2 separate regions of the Homo sapiens genome follow, and region 1 is linked to region 2. The links are contacts of gene promoters, found by promoter capture Hi-C in blood cells and fetal thymus (Javierre and others, 2016). All regions are on one chromosome and are shown on one strand. Each heading gives the region's core, a stretch centred on a gene start or on the middle of the fragment in contact. The rest is flanking DNA. Distances are from core to core; before and after follow the strand shown. Region 1 has its middle 11 kb from the start of FAM81A. Region 2 holds the start of SLTM (SAFB like transcription modulator).

The links. The method cuts DNA at HindIII sites, captures the fragments that hold promoters and counts their contacts. A CHiCAGO score of 5 or more calls a contact.
Region 1: a contact is called between a fragment that was not itself captured here and the fragment with the promoter of SLTM in region 2, in 2 of 17 cell types (erythroblasts and naive B cells). The highest score is 5.2, in erythroblasts.

What each region holds. Positions count from the first base shown.
Region 1 is chr15:59,425,209-59,428,216 of GRCh38, forward strand. It overlaps a transcript of FAM81A not described here. Among named protein-coding and RNA genes, the nearest start is that of FAM81A, 11 kb to the right of the region's middle. The HindIII fragment of the contact is 185 bases long and covers 1,589-1,773 here.
Region 2 is chr15:58,932,124-58,935,198 of GRCh38, forward strand. SLTM (SAFB like transcription modulator) reads right to left here and starts at 1,556. Exons shown (of 21, transcript NM_024755.4): 1 at 1,281-1,556; 2 at 233-320. The coding sequence starts at 1,442. RefSeq lists silencers at 913-1,172, 1,543-1,722 and enhancers at 1,223-1,462, 1,753-1,892, 1,913-2,002. The HindIII fragment of the contact is 26,250 bases long and covers 1-3,075 here.

The sequences.
Region 1 (3,008 bases), core at 431-2,930, 490 kb after region 2:
CTACAGTGTCCCTGTGCCTATGATAGTGCCTGATACAGTCTAGGTGCTTGATGGATGAAGAAATTGAGGCTCAAACAAATAAAATGACTTACCCCAAATCATCGACTTGGTGAGAGATGAAGCCAGAATTTGAATGCAAGTCTTTGAATCTTGGAGTCCTTCTTTTTCATTACCATTCATGTAATATGTGTTCAGCAGATAATTATTTTAATTATCTGAGTTATGGAAAAAGGCCCCTGACCTTCTGTTATTCATAAGCCTTATTTAAAAATTGCTAAAATAGTTTTTTTCTTTTTTATTGCTTTATAAAGTATTATTACAGTTACACACAGAAAAATCGTACTTTAAATGAATACTCTATCTGGAAAATATTTTTGTTTTAGTAAAATAGGCTTTGCCTTGGCTATTCTTTTATTTGTTTATTTGTTTGTTTTTGAGACAGGATCTCACTCTGTTGCTTATACTGGAGTACAGTGGCATGATCATAGCTCACTGCAGCTTCAAACTGCCAGGCTTAAGTGAGCCTCCTGCCTCAGCCTCCTGAGTAAGTGGGACTACAGGCCTGCATCACCATGACTGGATAATTATTTTATTTTGTAGAGATGGGGGTCTCACTATGCTGCCCAGGCTTGTCTTGAACTCCTGGCCTCAGGCGATCCTCCTGTCTTGGCCTCCTATTGGGTTTACAGGCATAAGCCACTGCACCCAGCTGGCTATTCTATTTTTAATGGGCTCAAACTGAACTTAAAAGTCATCTTCTGATTTTGTTTGGTCAGAAAGTTATTAAAATATATTTGGAACAATTTGCTATGCAGTCAATGAGTTTATGTTCTTTTGAACAAAATTAGTTTTTAAATTAGTCTTTAGTCCTCTAAAAAAGGCTTCATAATGCCATTCTAAAGTGGAAGAATTGTGGTTTGCTAACCACACTTTTTGAATTGTCTCCAAAACAGAAATACAGAAATTATGTCCTGGGAATAAAGGCAGTAAGACTCTTAAAGAAATAACCAGAAGAATTTCAAAATAATAGGTACAAGTACTTTTAAAATATTCTATAATTTATTTCTCCTAACTCTGGATTAAAAAAAAAAATTGGCTCTAAGAAATACACGTACTGACCAGGTGTGATGGCTCTTGCCTGTAATCCTAGCACTTTGGGAGACCGAGGTGGGCGATCACCTGAGGTTGGGAGTTCAAGACCAGCCTGACCAACATGAAGAAACCCCGTCTCTACTTCTCTACTAAAAATACAAAATTAGCCAGGCGTGGTGGCGCATGCCTGTAATCCCAGCTACTGGGAGGCTGAGGCAGGAGAATCGCTTGAACCCAGGAGGCAGAGGTTGCGGTGAACCGAGATTGCGCCACTGTACTCCAGCGTGGGCAACAAGAGCGAAACTCTGTCTCAAAAACACCCAAACAAACAAACAAAGAAATACATGTACTCAGTTTATAAAATCAAACTTGCTTATACTGATGTTTCTTCATCTTTTACTGTTAGACATTATCTAGTCACTTCCTACTAAGGAAGGTGAGGATTTAGTTCTCCAACACGCCTCGACATACCTCTGCCACATACACTTCCCCCCTAAGCTTCTCAATAGAGTGACATAGCAATCTTTCATTAAACCAACACTCAGTAACATATTTACATTATAACTATTGTTCACAGCTGAGTCAAGTATGATTGAACACATTTCTTTTAACTCTTAGCATTAAGCATTGCCTTTTCTTGGGCTATTAGTTTTTTATGCACATATCACTAGTTCATCTATAAGCTTTCTGACAGAACTGTAATTCCCTTCGCTAAGATCAAACATATCAGACAATCTGTTTCTGTTTCTTTCTCCCATTTGCCTGGGAGTGACCTCCCTATAGTGCTCTACTTCTTGGTTTTATTTTATTTTATTTTTTATTTTTGGGAGCACCGAGTCTCACTCTGTCACCCAGGCTGGAGTGCAGTGGCCTGATCTCGGCTCACTGCAGCCTCCGCCTCCTGGGTTCAAGTGATTCTCCTGCTTCAGCCTCCTGAGCAGCTGGGATCACAGGTGCATGCCACCAAGCCCAGCTAATTTTTGTATTTTTAGTAGAGACGGGGTTTCTCCATGTTGGCCAGGCTGGTCTTAAACTCCTGACCTCAAGTGATTTGCTTGTCTCAGCCTCCCAAAGTGCTGGGATTACAGGCTTGAGCCACCATGCCTCGCCTCTTTTAGCTATTTTTAAATGTGCAATTAAATGATTATTGACCTATTGATAGCAAAAGTTACCCTGTTGTGCTATGAAATACTAGATCTTATTTATTCTGTTTTTTTAATACTCATTAACCATCCACACTGCCCCGCTAGGCCCCACTCTCCTTCCTAGCATCTGGTAACTGCCATTCTACCGTCTATCTCCATGAGTTCAATTGTTTTAATTTTTAGCTCCCACAAATGAGTGAGAACATGCAAAGTTTGTCTTTCTGTGCCTGTTTTATTTTACTTAACATAATGACCTCCAGTTCCATCCATGTTGTTGTAAATGACAGGATCTCATTCTTTTTTATGGCTAAATAGTATTCCATTGTGTATAGGTACCATATTTTCTTTATCCATTCATCTGCTGAATACACTTAGGTTGCTTCCAAATTTTTGTTATTGTGAATAGTGCTGTGATAAACATAAGAGTGCAGATATCTCTTCGATATACTGATTTCCTTTCTTTTGGGTATGTATCTGGCAGTGAAACTGCTGGGTCATATGATAGCTCTATTTTTAGATTTTTGAAGAACTTCCAAACTGTTCTCCATAGTGGCTGTGCTAATTTACATTTCTACCAACAGTGTACGAGGATTCCCTCTTCTGCACATCTTTGCCAGCGTTTGTTATTGCCTTTTAGGATAAAAGCCGTTTTAACTCGGGTGAGATGATGTCTCACTGTAGTTTTGATTTGTGTTTCTCTGATGATCAGTGATGTTGAGCACCTTTTCATACACCTGTTTGCCATTTCTATGTCTTCTTGTGAGAAATGTC
Region 2 (3,075 bases), core at 306-2,805:
CGGAAGCAATAAAGAACTGTTCTCACTTTCTAATCAGCTTCAGCCGAATCTTAAGGGCTACAAGTCACCCAAAGCCTGGCAACAGTAACTTTTCTTCCTTGACCCAAGAAGGCAGACTGCCAGAGGGAAATAGCAAAGAGTAGCACTATATAAACAGGGCAAGAGGCACAAGAGCAGAGGCAAGTTATATAACCAAAATATATTTTAAAACATGTTCATAACTCGTAACAACCTTTGCCTTTAGTTGGTTTCTTGTTTGGAGTATCAGTTGAAACAGTTAATTCAATATTATCTGGATCGCCTCCTTCCTCTTCAATAGCCTACATTAGAAAGAGAAGTTAATATGCTACACAATCTATCTAAACTTATTTTATAAAAACGAAATGAAAAAAAATTTAGCAAACCTCAAGCCTCAAGACATTAGAATTGCCAGTCATTTCATCAACCGACTTCAAAAATGAGCAATTAAACTACACGAAAGAGTGAGAGAAACTTTCAGGGGAAAAAAATCATTAGGTATCAAAATCGCAAGGAGTTTTAAATTCTACCGTGTCAAGATAATTAAATATCACATCATACTGGCCAAAAATCCAAATATGTTCTATTGCAGAAAAGTTGCTAGCTACTAAAGTAAATAACTAAAAAGAGTTTTCCTAGTTTCTGTAATGCAAACTTACTGCTCCTCTGCTACAATTCCAACGCTCACTCAAACCAGAAAGCTAATCAGGAAAGAAAAAGTAATTATTGCGCTGATGCAAAAACTAAAAGCCTAGTGGAAAACAAAAACTCTGTCACCCACCCATCAACTCCCACTACCAATTCCCCCTCAAGATGGGGAAGAAACGGTTGGGCACAATTAAACGGTAACTTCGCAGAAGTCACCAAAGTAACCATTCCCTCTGAGGCCAAGAAATGCACACGCTCACCATGGCTAAAGGCTGGGGAGCCAGCGCCTCCCAGGTCTCCGCGATCGCCCTTGGGAGGCCGCGCCGGCCGGCCGCAACCCTCGCAGCCTGGCGGGGACGTCCCGGGGAGGCGGAGGCACGCTGGGCTGCGGTGGCCGGTCCCTCGCAGGCCCGGCCCGGCCCGGGGCGCGGGGCGGGGGCACCGCGGAAGGGTCCCCGTCCTCCACGCTCGCGGGAGCCGCCCCTGGCCTCCCTACCATGCCGTTCCGCAGGTCCCAGCGGCTGCGGGCAGCCGGAGGCTGCGGCGGAAGCGGGGCGCCGAGGCGCGGCCTAAGTTCCCCTTCCCGGTCCTTTCCGGTCCTCGCCGGGCCTCACCTGCTTGAGTCGGGAGATGAGCACGGTCTTGACTCCGGTGATGTCTAAGTTCCGCCGCTTCAGCTCGGACTTCAGATCGATGACCCGCAGATCGGTGATCTTTTTACCTTCCGCCTGACCCGAGGCGGCCGAGGCTGCCACCGCACCGGTAGCGGCAGCCATCTTAGAAGAGCAGCGCGCTGCCGAGGCAGCGAGTGGGCTGCAGGGCGGCGGCAGCAGCGCCAACTTCCACCCAGGCCTCGGCGGCCGCCGGCGCCGCGCAGCGCTGCGCACAATGAGCCGCTGGCCCCTCCCCCGGTCCGCCACCCTAGCGCAACCTGCAGCAGCAGCCGCCAGCACCCGGATGACGGCCGCGCGTGCGCGTTGGCGCAGGGACCGGCAGCGGCGCGCTCGGTCGAGCGGGCCGCGGCCACTTGGGCGGTGCGCTCCCTTGTGTGGACTGGGAGGTCGGGCACGTCCTACCGCAGCAACGTCCGCCGCGCCGCCGTTCTCTCGTCGCTTCGTTAGCCATTTTCTTGCAACGTCTTGAGTCTTGAGCAACAACGATGTGCGGGCACTGAATGACATAGTGCGCGCGTTACTCAACACAAACCGAGGGGGCGCGTGCGCGCGCTGAACCTCTCAAGGAAATACTTTATCAGTTCTGCTGAATAATCGAAAAATTGTCGCCGGTGTGCACCAACGAACTAGGTTCCCCGAGTTCCATTCAAAAGACCTCAAAGCAGTTCTAGGGCTGTTAGTCCAAAGAATAGGAAGGGCTGGCCTTTGACACATGGCTCATTGGCTGTCTCAGGAGAAAACATCATCGCCCTGCCCATGGCAGCTTAGGTTATTCTAGGGCTGCCCTTCCTCACTTGAAAAACAGGAAAACTTCTTTCTTGTTGGCCTCAGGTTTGCTATCCTCCCCGGTAGACCTGATGGCTCAACACGAAATTGTTCAATGAAAGAGAAAACTAGCTTATAAGTACTTGTTGCCGTTATCATATACTGTGTTCACTATTTTGCCCCCCAAAATTTGGGATTCCAAGAACAGTGAGCATCTTCTTATGGAGGATCGGCCTGTACAAGTGAGTACCTATTTGTAATTTTACCTTGTATTATTCATTATCAAAGTGCAAGCATTGATAAAATAAAACGATTCTATAAATTCCATAAGGTGATTATGATGCACAATTAACTATACTGTATTTCCTGGTTTTACAACTTAAATTCCTGAGATCTGACTCACTTTAGGTTACTTTTTCTGATTGGCTCAAAAAAAAGGAAGACTGGACATTATAAAAGAATACCTGACATTAGGGTAGTTCTTTACAGTTTATAAGGCACTTTGACGTACAGTAACCCCCTTAATCCTTCCCAAGTCTGTCAAGTAAATCTCCGTGAGGCTTAGAGAGATTAAATGACTTGCCCATGTTCACACAGCTGGTATGTGGCCGAGCTGTGCTCAAATCCCAGGCTCCTGATTCCAAATCCAGCTCTGTCTCTGCTACAACATTGGATTCACAATAATAGAAGTTTAGAATGCAAGACTCCTTAGAAATCTTCTGGCCCATCACTTGAGGTCAGGAGTTCAAGACCAAACTGGCCAAGATACAGGGTTTAGTAGAAACCCCGTCTCTACAAAAAATACAAAAATTAGCCGGGTGTGGTGGTGAGCACCTGTAATCCCCGCTACTCGGGAGACTGAGGCAGGAGAATCACCTGAACCCGGAAGGCAGGGGTTGCAGTGAGATCCGGCCGCTGCACTCCACCCTGGGCAACAGAGCAAGATCCTGTCTCAAAAAAAAAAAAAAAG